Linked DNA regions of Homo sapiens: region 2 is linked to region 1. Evidence: promoter capture Hi-C in human tissues and cell types (Jung and others, 2019). All regions are on one chromosome and are shown on one strand. The core of a region is centred on a gene start or on the middle of the fragment in contact, and the rest is flanking DNA. Distances in the headings are between cores, read along the strand shown. Region 1 holds the start of ACTBL2 (actin beta like 2). Region 2 has its middle 160 kb from the start of LINC02225.

What was found. Contacts are between HindIII fragments. The study calls those that stand out against the background at their distance.
Region 2: a fragment that was not itself captured here is called in contact with the fragment with the promoter of ACTBL2 in region 1 in 1 of the 25 tissues and cell types used here (dorsolateral prefrontal cortex).

The regions. Positions count from the first base shown.
Region 1 is chr5:57,479,359-57,485,280 of GRCh38, reverse strand. It overlaps ACTBL2 (actin beta like 2), which reads left to right and starts at 2,470. Exons shown (of 1, transcript NM_001017992.4): 1 at 2,470-5,263. The coding sequence starts at 2,574. The coding sequence ends at 3,704. All of the region lies in intron 1 of RMEL3 (enriched in melanoma 3), which reads right to left. The HindIII fragment of the contact is 3,416 bases long and covers 964-4,379 here.
Region 2 is chr5:57,737,576-57,744,110 of GRCh38, reverse strand. No RefSeq gene overlaps it. Among named protein-coding and RNA genes, the nearest start is that of LINC02225, 160 kb to the left of the region's middle. The HindIII fragment of the contact is 3,739 bases long and covers 1,837-5,575 here.

The sequences.
Region 1 (5,922 bases), core at 1,221-3,720:
CTCACTCTAGTTTCGTGTATCTGCATGATAGTCAAACTAGGCAAAATGTAAAAGAAAAAGAATATTCTGGGCTTCCATGAGTGAACCTTGAAGGGCCCTAAAGGTTTAGGTAATTAATTAAACATTTGTAAATTCTGGTCAGTTACAAAGTCTGTTACCTCCAAGAACAGTACTCCCTACTCACAGCTTCCAGAGCCCAGTATTTGTAAACCCATCTTTCTATGTTTTACTCAACACAAATTCTTACTACTTTTTAAAAATTTAACCAACTCAACAGATGACATTTTTAATGGCTGTTGAATTGTGATAAGCACCTCTTGCATTATTGAGAGTTAATTAGAAGAGCATAAGCTTATTTTAAGAATACATAACTGATGAAATTTGCTCCTGGGACACCGGAATTAAAGCAGGCTAGACAGTCTCTAGCAAAATCACACATCAGCCACACTCTCAAGGCATCAGTTATGCTGTGTGGACTCAGTACCAAATATCCCTTAGTTGAAGGTGATTCTAAGGACAGCACTCTAGTAAGTGTAGGATCTAAGGCTGCACTTGGTACTATGTGGGCTCCTCCACTAACATTTCCACCAACTTGGCTTTGTTTTATATTCCAGACCGGAGCATTCATAAATGGGGACTTGTGCTAAATACAATGTGTATTTCATTTTTTCCATTTTGTAAAATGTGCATGTAGTTTGTTATGGGATTTTAAAAAATTCCCAGAAGCACCATCCTATAGCAATAAAATGTTGTTTTAATCAAAAGCTTGGTTGTACTACATAACAAGGAAGTTCATAAAACCATTCAGTGTGAAGGTTTTTAACACTGTTGAAGAAGGAATTTTGCAGTTACAGAAAAGATTAAAGGAAAGGACTGTTTTGGTGAGCCCTAAAGCAAAACCATGGATCTTGTGATGAAACATACATTCTGCCATGACTGATTGTCACCAGAAAGGTTTTGAAGGCATATTACAGCACTGGATAAAATAAATCTATATCAAGCTATAGACAAAGAAGAGGGCTGGATGCTCACAGCTTGATGCTACACCATGACTCTCCAAGAGGCTCACTGGGCAAAGACTCAGGTTAGTTCTCCTGGCCTTGAGCTGGAGGGTGTTTTTTGTCCAGTAAATAGGGGCTGTGCTACCTCTTACAAAGCAAGCTTTATTGGGTAAATGAATGAATGATGAACCCAAATAAAGATTATTTTGGAGAACTCAGATGTAGACATGGAAAATTTCTTTGCTTTACAAGAGCTCACAAAGATAATTATATTCTATTCGCCTAACACATAGGGGAGCAGAAGTAATGAGCTTTCTTAAATGCTATTTCTCTGTAACACATTGCTGATGTCCTACATTTTACCATCATACACATCTTTTCAGGTAGTCTGTATTTCTATATGAAACATGGAACCCAAACAAATTGTTGCTATGAAGTGATCAGGGTGTAATATATCTTGAAATGGAAGGAAAGCTAGTATAATTCTAATTGTATAGATTTTAATAACTACATAGAGGTTTAATGTTATAATATAGTATATGTATCTTGAAGATCAAAATGTTTTAAGGATTAGTTTAAATATATAATTTTTCAAATTTGTCTTATCACTTCATTTTGTCCATTGTTGCAGAACTCAAGAGTTGTTGCAAATAAATAAATTTTTATAACCTGCATCTTAATAAATCATGCAAAATAGTTGACATTCAGTCATTATACAATTAACATGGACCCAATGAACCTGGTTCTATGAACAATGTCTAGACACAGTAAATGTTTAATGAAATTTGGTTGTTAGAAATTTATATCAGAAAAAAGTATCTATATGGGTTAACTTTAGCAATCATTCTATTCCTTTCGCTTGATCTCTGATGGATTAGAAGTCTATTAAATATCTCTACATTTTGCTTGACACAAGTGCATTGTAATTACAGCCATCAGGCCATCCTTAGCCATTTATTATTTTCATTTACTAAAACAGTCTCTACGATGATGACACCCTGTGGGATTAGGAATCTAATGGAAACAAAAATCTTGAAAAAGTGAAGATTGCAGGGTAAGACCCCTCATCAGAACAGTATCTTAAGAATGAAAAGGTAAGCTAGTGTAGGAAAAGTGAATCCTCAGGGACGCTAAGGAGGGAGCCTTCCTCCCAGCAGTGTTGCCATACCTAGCACCAGCTTTCTTTCATCTTGCTTTTATATCCCCCACTGCATCATCATAGTTATCTAGAGACCTCACCAGGCAGGCTGACGGTCATGTGTGGGTTGCCTAATTACAGGAACCTGAGATTTGACCACTTGGCAGCCAATTTTCTCTTTATGTAGAAAGATCTAATTGTTTATGTAATCATCACCATCATTAATACCTCAGAGATGACCTCATCCAGAAATGCTGGGAACTGGTGGAGTAGGACATGGGCGGAGTCAGTGTGTTCCTTTAAATACCTGTGGTCCCGGTGCAGCCTCCCGTGTCTGAAAGCATTTCTGGAGTGTTTTAGGCCTGTTCACTTTCTCTTACTCACTGTCTATTCACTTGTCCTGTTCACTCGTCTGGAAGATCTCAGCCAGCACCATGACTGACAATGAGCTGTCTGCCTTGGTAGTGGATAATGGGTCAGGGATGTGCAAGGCAGGCTTTGGTGGTGACGATGCCCCCCGGGCTGTGTTCCCCTCCATGATAGGGCGTCCTCGACACCAGGGCGTTATGGTAGGCATGGGCCAGAAGGACTGCTACGTGGGAGATGAGGCTCAGAGCAAGAGAGGCGTCCTGACCCTGAAGTATCCTATCGAGCATGGAGTGGTCACCAACTGGGACGATATGGAAAAGATCTGGTACCACACATTCTACAATGAGCTCCGTGTGGCACCAGATGAGCATCCCATCCTCCTCACCGAGGCACCCCTGAACCCCAAGATCAACCGGGAAAAGATGACTCAGATCATGTTCGAGGCTTTCAACACACCAGCCATGTATGTCGCCATCCAGGCTGTGCTGTCCCTCTATGCCTCAGGACGGACCACAGGCATCGTGATGGATTCTGGGGATGGGGTCACTCACATCGTGCCCATCTATGAAGGTTATGCCCTGCCTCATGCCATTCTACGCCTGGATCTGGCAGGGAGAGACCTGACTGATTACCTCATGAAGATCCTGACAGAGCGAGGCTATAACTTCACCACCACTGCTGAGCGGGAGATTGTGCGAGATGTCAAAGAGAAGCTGTGCTACGTAGCCCTGGACTTTGAGCAGGAGATGGTCAGGGCAGCCGCATCCTCCTCACCGGAACGGAGCTATGAACTTCCTGATGGGCAGGTGATCACCATTGGGAATGAACGCTTCCGATGCCCTGAAGCCATTTTCCAGCCTTCCTTTCTGGGCATTGAGTCCAGTGGGATCCATGAGACAACCTTCAACTCTATCATGAAGTGCGATGTGGATATTCGCAAGGATCTCTATGCCAACACCGTGTTATCTGGAGGGAGCACCATGTACCCAGGCATTGCTGACAGGATGCAGAAAGAAATCATAACCCTGGCACCCAGCACCATGAAAATCAAGATCATAGCTCCCCCAGAGCGGAAGTATTCTGTTTGGATTGGGGGCTCCATCCTTGCCAGCCTGTCCACATTCCAGCAGATGTGGATCAGTAAGCAGGAATATGATGAGGCTGGTCCTCCTATCGTTCACAGAAAATGTTTCTGAATGGGCTTCCATATTAGTGGGCTTACATTTTCCCTTTTCCTAGGTCACAGTGATGGTACTGCTTTTATCCGCTTTCAGTAGAATCGAGGTAAATACGTCACTCTTCCTAGTGTAAACCAGCAAACCCATCTCTCCATCCAAGTAACCTGGGCTCTTACCCAGATAACCACATCCGGTTCTCCATCAAGTGAAGGTGAATTCTAATACCATATTCCTTTTTCTTTGCCTATACTGTTCAAAGATAGGTAGGCCAGCTTAAATACATATAAGTGACAAGGAGTAAAATCACGAGAAATGTCATTTCAGAATGGATAACTATAATTATCAAGCTTTAAAACTTAGTTCTCGCTAAAATATTTAACAAGAACAGGCTGTATAAACTTGTTTAAAAAAAAAAGGTGCGTATGCATTTAGCAGCCGTGTCTTACTAGTTAAGTATCTTTGTTTTGTTTACTTCTTTGTATGGAGATAATGAATTATAAAGTTCAATAATATCCATATATACATAAGCACCAGGGAAATAAAATATATTGTGAAATATGCTGATGTATCTAGCTATCTGAACAGCTAATGTGAATTTCTTTACTCCCAAAAGTCATCGTTGTACTAGGTACATATTTTAATTGTTTCCCTTACTAAATAAGCATAATGAGACAGCCACCATTCCATTAATGTTTATAAATCATCTAAATTTTCAGCTCATAGTGGAGTTCTGCTGGTCAAATTATATTTTAATATCTTTCTTACTGAACCTTCTCATACCAAAACTACAGACAATGTCTAATTCTTAAGAGAGATAGATATTATAATATCAAATTAATGTCATTATGGTACAATTTGACAGAGGTAATTTTATTTCTATTTCTTAGTGTAATAGCACATCTTAAATAATTTCTGTAGACCAGGATTACAGATACTTCTCTTGTGCAAGGATTTCACTGTGGGAAAATATAGCTGCAGCATCTTTATTAATTATACATTTTACTACCAGTATACTAACACAGTTTTATCCTTGGAAAGCTTTTAGAATAATTCTACTTTATTATGTCCAGTAACTAGCAATACTTATTTATGCAAAGTGTCTCTGAGATACTAACATCTTTGAAAATATCAATGTATGTTCCTATAATGTCTAAAATATTTTAGTTACTCCAGTGATGATTTATTAACCAATTTTAAGTACCAGTATGTTTATTCCAATCTATGCAGTGATTTCTGAATATTTGGATATCAGCATTATTTGTATTTTTCAGGGTAATTTCTGAAAATTTAAAATATTTATTTGGATTGCTTATTCAGGCATTATAAGGTACTCTGGAGGAAGGAATCACTTCTCTTTTTTTCTTAGTTGGGAAACTTGTACTTATGTTATAAATCTTTAAAATGGAATCAGTAAGAATTTTTTGTTTAAGGTAATACTTTTCAAATAATTTGATTATTCCTTATTGGCTTTATCTGACAACATAATCTTTAAAATGCATGTAACCAAAATTAATCTCCAAAAACACTTTATTTTATATAACTTGCTTTCAGTACATTAAAATTGCTTCATACTTGTATACTTAGATTTCCTGTTATTTCTCCTCAACCATTCCCTTAGAATTAGAGAATGATCCAGATAGCATCTCTTTTTATATGTGTGACCTATTCATCTGTATGTTACAATTTTGCACCTCATACATTTAATCATGTAAACATTAAAAGGCAAATTTTAAAAAAAGGATAGCTAGCCATTTAACATTATATAGATGTCTCATAATCTAAATTTTAAAGCTGGGTTTTACTGGATGAACTGATCTTCAGGTAATTAATAGGCAGAGACAACATCAACAATAATAATCATAATATTTTGGATTTATATGCTGCAATGCATTCCATTTGCAGAGTGAGTAGTTCTCACAAACATTCTGACCTGCATTCTGAATTACCAAAAAAAAAAAAATATGACTTCCCACCCACAGACTATAAATGGGACAGGTAATGTGAACTTACAAGAGAGTGAGCTATAGAGCCCCACAACATTAGGTGAAAATATGAGCCCCATAATGCAAACTACGCATTATAAATCTTGAATTACTGTGGTAATTTAAGAGTTTATTATATATAAAATCTACAATTTCTAGATAACAAGTTGGTAAAATGCCAGAAACTTAAACCTAGAGTTGTGGGATATTCTTCTCTTTATCAACATTGACTGACTTATGGATGAGTTTAATGA
Region 2 (6,535 bases), core at 2,457-4,956, 260 kb before region 1:
ACTCATCTTTGGAACATGGTCTGCTTGGGATAAATGTAGACTTACAGAAGTAAGTAAAGGCTGCCCTGCTTACTGGAATGGACCCAGTGCATTCTACCAGTGGACACTCACAGTAACAAAATAAAGGAAATAGGTACCTTGCTTATTTATCAGCAGAAGATGTCCCTTGGCCATAGTTAGAGGCTCTTTGTAATACTGACATTTTAATCCTCTTTTTATTCTGCTAAATCTGTGTTTTTAAACAGTTTTTCTTATTGCTATGAAAAAGTACAGTGCCTTTTAAAAATGATTTTGTATTTTTGGTCTCCCACCACCAGAATGGCAGCCTATAGTAAGACGACTGTTTCACCACTGTAGCATCAGCAACTAGATTGCCTGGTGGATAATTAGAGCTCCATAAACACTAGAAGTAAACAAATGAAGAAAGAGAGTGCTTCCTCCCTTACCCCCTACTTACCACCAGGACACACCAAGGCCTCCAGTGTGTTTCCTCATGATAGTGCATCTCCCAGCAGAAGCCCTCAACACCTTTTCTCTCCCCACTCTTTCCACCTCCTCTTCTCCATCCCACTCTGAAGAAGCACAGTACTGGTAACTATGAGAAAAATATGTGAGTGTATTCCCCTCTTCCTTGTTTCCAATATCATTTGTGCCCCTTCACAAAACAGTTGAGAAATTGAGTTTGATTTTATAGTTAATGTATACATTTAATGTACTACTTCTTTTTTACCTTGAAAAACATAGTAAATTTTATGTGCATCATACTTGCGTCTAGGGTCTCTTTGAATTGAAAAAATATGATACAAACATATAGTTTGATGTTAAATAAATGTTTTGCCACCCATGGGAAACAATGTCAGGTGCTGGTCATTTGGAGTTTTTTTATGTGAAGGACCAGAGAAGCCAAGTTCCCAAGGCTCTGGTGCTGTGCTATCTCTTCCCTCTGGACTCTGTCCTAGGCAGCTGAAGTGCTAACATGGACCCCTGTGCTGCAATGAGAGGGCTTCGCCTGGAGAGCAGAGATCAGCTCTGTTCTAGGAATCCTGGTTTATTTTTTTCTCCTTTCCTTTGGCTTATCTTTCCTTGCACTGGAATGCTAGGAAAGGAAGAACTTTGATACTAGCTTCGAGGTAACCAATATGCTCAGCTTGACTGATCTAGGAAAAATGAGACTTTTATGTGGTCCAGTCCTTCTCACCAAGAGGCTAGACTAAGATTTGAGGCAAAAGCCTTATAGTAATAGCACACATTTCCTTTGCCTTCTCCTCTATGCAGGTACTTTAGGAACTTCACTAAGAAGGGGAGAAATTTTGACAGAATAAGATTAAACTGTTTGAAGCTTAGGTCCTGTTTCTTTTTTAATCTGAAGAGCAGAGAAATTATAAGATAGTCACAAAGTCTGAAAACATAAACAAATGTAGCTAACAAGTAGTTTATTGCTATTACATTATTTTAGATGACATGATCAATAACATGTTTTCAGACTTTATAGCCACACCCTGTCCTTATAATAAGGCCTTCTGATGTTCTCACTTATAAGTGGGAGCTAAACACTGCATACTTGTGGATATAACGATGGCAATAATAACCACTAGGAACTATTAGAGGGGGGAAGGAGGGAGGGGTAATAGGGTTGAAATCTAACCATTGCGCACTATGCTCACAACCTGGGTGATGGTATCAATCAAACCCAAAACCTCAGCATCACACAATATACCCATGTAACAAATGTGCACACGTACCCTCTGAATTTAAATTAAAAGTGGAAATTATAATTTTTTAAAATGCCTTCTGCATAATCGGCTTCTTTAAGACCCATTAGGTCAGAGGCATCAAATGCATAGGTTACTATTTGCTATGGTCCAAATGTTTGTGTGTATCCTAAACTCATATGTTTAAATATTAACCCCCAATGTGATAATTTTAAGTGACAGGACCTTTGTAAGGTGACTGGTTCATGACAGCAGAGTCCTCATGAATGGAATTAGTGCCCTTAAAAAAGAAGCCTGAAGGAGGTAGCCCCTTCTGTCATAGGAGGAGACAAAAAGAAGATGCCGCCTGTGAACAAGAATCTAACCGAATCTGTTAGCACCTTGATCTTGGACTTTCCTGCCTCCAGAACTGTAAGAAATAAATTTCCATTGTTTATAAGACACTCAACTTATGGTATTTTGTTATAACAGCCAAAACAGAGTAAGACATTGCAGCTTGAGCCAACTAAGACACTATTTAACACCCCTTTGACAAACGTTTCACTTGTCCAATCTTTGCTTCACATCCCTGCACATGTTCTAAACAATGACATTAAATAAAAATGCTACTGAGGTACAAGCTTTAAATTCTGAAATAACATTGAACATAGTAAATGATTTTATTGCTATTAGGTTATCTTGAAACCCTAAAATGTAACAACTACAAGATTTTGCTGGAGATAGGATTGCCAAATAAAACATAGGACACTTGGGTAATTTTGAATTTCAGATAAGCAAATACTTTTTTAGTGTAAGTATGTGCCAGGTAATACATTTTTAAATAATACCATTGGTCACTGTAGTAAGGGCAAGAAAATATGGTGAATCATATCCTGGCTTTTAAAGGCATCCACTCAGAAATGACACCCATCAATTACACTGACATTTCATTGCCAAAACAAGTCAAATGGCCATGGCCAACCTCAAAAAAGTAGATAATTGTGATCCTAACTGGAAGGAAAGAAACTGGAATATATAGGTAGAGAGCCCTAATGGCAACCACACACACACAACATTTTAATTCACATTTTATAAGAATAATTACAAATTAAAAGATGAGCATCAATCAAACACATTAGAATGGTTGCTTATGGGAGTAAGGAGGAAGGAAATGAAAGTGGAAATTAGGCTAAAAGTGAAGGAATAAACAAACAAGAAATAAGAGAAGGCATTATTACTGTCAGTGTACAGGTAGGTATACTGGGAATCAAGTTTTTAATGTGTCATCATGACCCCAACCAATACTTAAACAAGAGCTCAAACTTAAGTATTCTGACTCCACATCCCATTCTCTGTCCCCTAAATTTCCAGGTCTCAGGGTTACACGCTATGATGGATAAATATAATTGTTTTACATTGATAATAGCTTCCTATCCACATGATAATTTGAATAGGATGTGTCGAGACCCCACATACCTAAGATAAAGCTTATCTTATTTCTTTTTGATAAGCAGCATTAATAACATTGTGGAAAAAGCAAGAAGTTAGGAGTCAAATGAACCTGCATTCAAATCCCAGCCTTGTCAAGTAACAGTCTTATGACTTTTGACATGCGATGTTAATCCCTGTAAGTATCAATGTCCTCCTTTGCAAACCTTCGTAAATCCAGGATAATAATGCCTAACTTAAAGGCGCCACATAAAGATTAAATAAGAAAAGGACACATCACAGAGCCTGGCATTTAAATATTTTAAACTTTAACTATGGCTTTTTATTGCCCCAAAGTTTATAATTTACACTGAGCTGATAATCTGTGTTCTTCTGCTTTAGCCTATTTGTGATTCATTTGGTATTTCCTCTATGTCTGTCACACTATTACTAGTAAAAGCTTACTTTAGCTAGTTACTTCGTTACTTAGGATGTTCACTGCAAATGTAATGAGCAAAAGTGAAAATCAGTCACTGGGGCCTTCAGCTTGATATTTAAGCTTCATAGCACCACTGTAAAGACTGTAGTAAGTAAAACACCCTGTGATGTTTCTTAAAGTTGAGGCAAAAGCCAAATGATAGGTGAATAATTTCTTAAGCTACTAAGCTTTCATTTAATTTGTCCATAGGAATCCCACCCAATTCATTCATCCAGCATAATGAATAAAGGTTTCTTCTTCCTGTTTGCATGAATGTGACCCAGTGACCATCAATATATTTTAAAGGATCAAAGAAAGCTTTAAAGAAAGAAACAGTCCTTAAAAATGATTATTTCCTGTTTTTCATTATCATTTTACTGCTTGTTTAAGCATCTCCAAATGACATATGATTACATTTTATATGATTTTGAAATTTGAGCTAATGTAAATGGTGTCATATTATGTATATTCTGTGACTTGTTTTATTTATTTGACAGTGTGTTTCTGAGAGTCAGTCATGTGCGTGTATGAAGTGACCATTTATTCTATTTTGCTACTCTATGGTTTTCCATTTATAAGTACACCAGGACTCATCTTCCATGCTCCACCTGCAGAGTACTGAGTGCCCTTGAGTAGGAGGAAGGCCACGCAATGAAGCAGAGGCCCAGAGGGAGGGAGATGGGCTATGCAGGACACATTTGCCGTGTCTAAGCTGACGTGATGATCATTTTGTTATTACTTATACTGTGTCTAGTCTTCTGTATTTATAAAACACAGAAGAAATATTTTATAATTTCAAAATCAGGGGAAGGATAGAATGTTGCTCTTTGTTATGTGACCCAAAATACATGGCCCTTTCATCAAGGAAAAAGCTTCACTTTACATTGGCATTAATGACACTGGAATTTGGGTTTGTTTTCTTTATTTTTTTCCTTTTAAAAAGTGACCCAAGGTACAGGGAATTAGTTCCTTTTGACTTCTTATGTCATCCCAACCAAATGTGAGACTTAACGTGTGAAAGTCACCTGAAGCACGTGGCATCTAAAAACTATTGGTTTTTTAAAATATATGTTTTAATAGACAAATAATTGTATATATTCATGGGGTATAGTGAGATGTTTTGATATATGTACATGTTATTCATCAATGAGTATCATTGATATAAAAGTAGGTGCCCAATAAAGACTGGAATATAGTAGACATACAAAACATTGGTAAAGCACTCTCACAGACAAAAAGCTGCATATCAAAATGGGAAGCCATGTATCAGAATAACAGGAGAGAAATGGTTGATATAGGCAGACACATAGGGGAAAATATTTATTCATTCAATCAATCATTAAATATAAATCAAGCATGTACTATGTGCCAAAACCTGAGCTAGATGCTGAGGTCACAAAGGTAAATTTGACCCAGGCTCTGCCCTCAATCAGTTTACAATCTAATGCTTACGCTACTACAGTATTTTGCAAATATTTCCACTACAGAAGTCATTGCATCATATTGAATAGGCTGTTTGTCTGGAAACAGTTGCATCTTCAGGGTAGGGCATGCATCTTACTGCTCAATGTCTAGGGTGACTGGTGCAGATAAGGTCTCAGTAAATGTGTATTGAGTGAATCACAAATGAATACTGGATTGCCCCAGAAATCTATAACTTATGGTTGCCTTCTATAGTTTTTCTTTCTTGTAAGATCCCTTAATTTTAGATTTTGCCTTCAGAACCTAAAAATCTTCAAGGCAAAGTTCTCACCCTCAAATCTCATATCCCCAATGCACTACTCTGGCCCTACACACACATGCGTGCACACACACACACATAACCACAGGGAAAAATTTTTTTAATTGCAATAATGACCATTTAGAGCCATTAATGAAAAACTGGAGTTTAACAATGGAATCTCAGAAAACATCCTGGGGAATTATTTGCTTCACTGTCTCACTCTAAAAGACAGCCTACTGGCCCAGCATTCTTGAACACAGAAACCTGAGAGCTCTAACAGAGACTCTGCGTCTTTACTCACTGCACAAATTGACTTGGATAGTGCAACAGACAGATGACCTTTGTACAGTTGAGAAGATCAAAAAATTAGCAAGAAGGGCAGCAGCCTAGAGAAAGCAAAGCAAGGAGAAGGATTTTGAGACCCAGGCTAGAATGTAGCACTGTTGAACAAAAGACAATAAAAAGGTTGGAAAATTGAGTGTGCCGCCTTGTCAAATAATATGACAAATGAGAAAGGAGAAAACAAAGCCTAGGATTCTAATGGTTTAGGATCTCATAGAATACAGAGAAGGTTGACTGATGGGAGTAGAACAGGGAAAAGTTTTTGGGGCAAGAGAGAAGCACCTCTGTATTTACAGATTTTCTCTTGGCTGTTTGTATCCTGATTTATTCACCTTCATCAGCCCTTCCCGTGGGGTCAGCATTGAGCTGTAGGACTGATAAATATGACCTGGATATAAAGATCAGCTGTTTACTATTACTCTTTAGAAGATTTGGTCATCTGAAAATTCCAAGCAATCTAAGAATTTCTGTAGTCAGCAGTCAAAGACCTTAATTAACTGCCCTAATTTCTAGTTTCCAATCCCTGTTGGTCAAAACCCCAGACCTCAGTCTCTGGCCTTCAGTAATAAATTTCTGATATATCAAGATTTTATTTAGATTAATCTTTTTCATTTTAAGTTGATGTCAGTGAATTTGGATATAAGTATTAAGGAACATAATTTAGCATAAATACCCCTGAACTATCAGTAAATGGTTCATCATGTCTCTGTTTATAGGAATGTTTCCAATCCAACTGCTTTATTGACTCTGGGAACAGAAACTGTTTCTTCTACTCTCTTATATATCTGTACATGTCTTTAAGTCTGGCTGAGAGAAGAGTTGGTGCCTAGTAAACATGTTCTGATTTATATTAAAAGAACAGATCCTACTTTT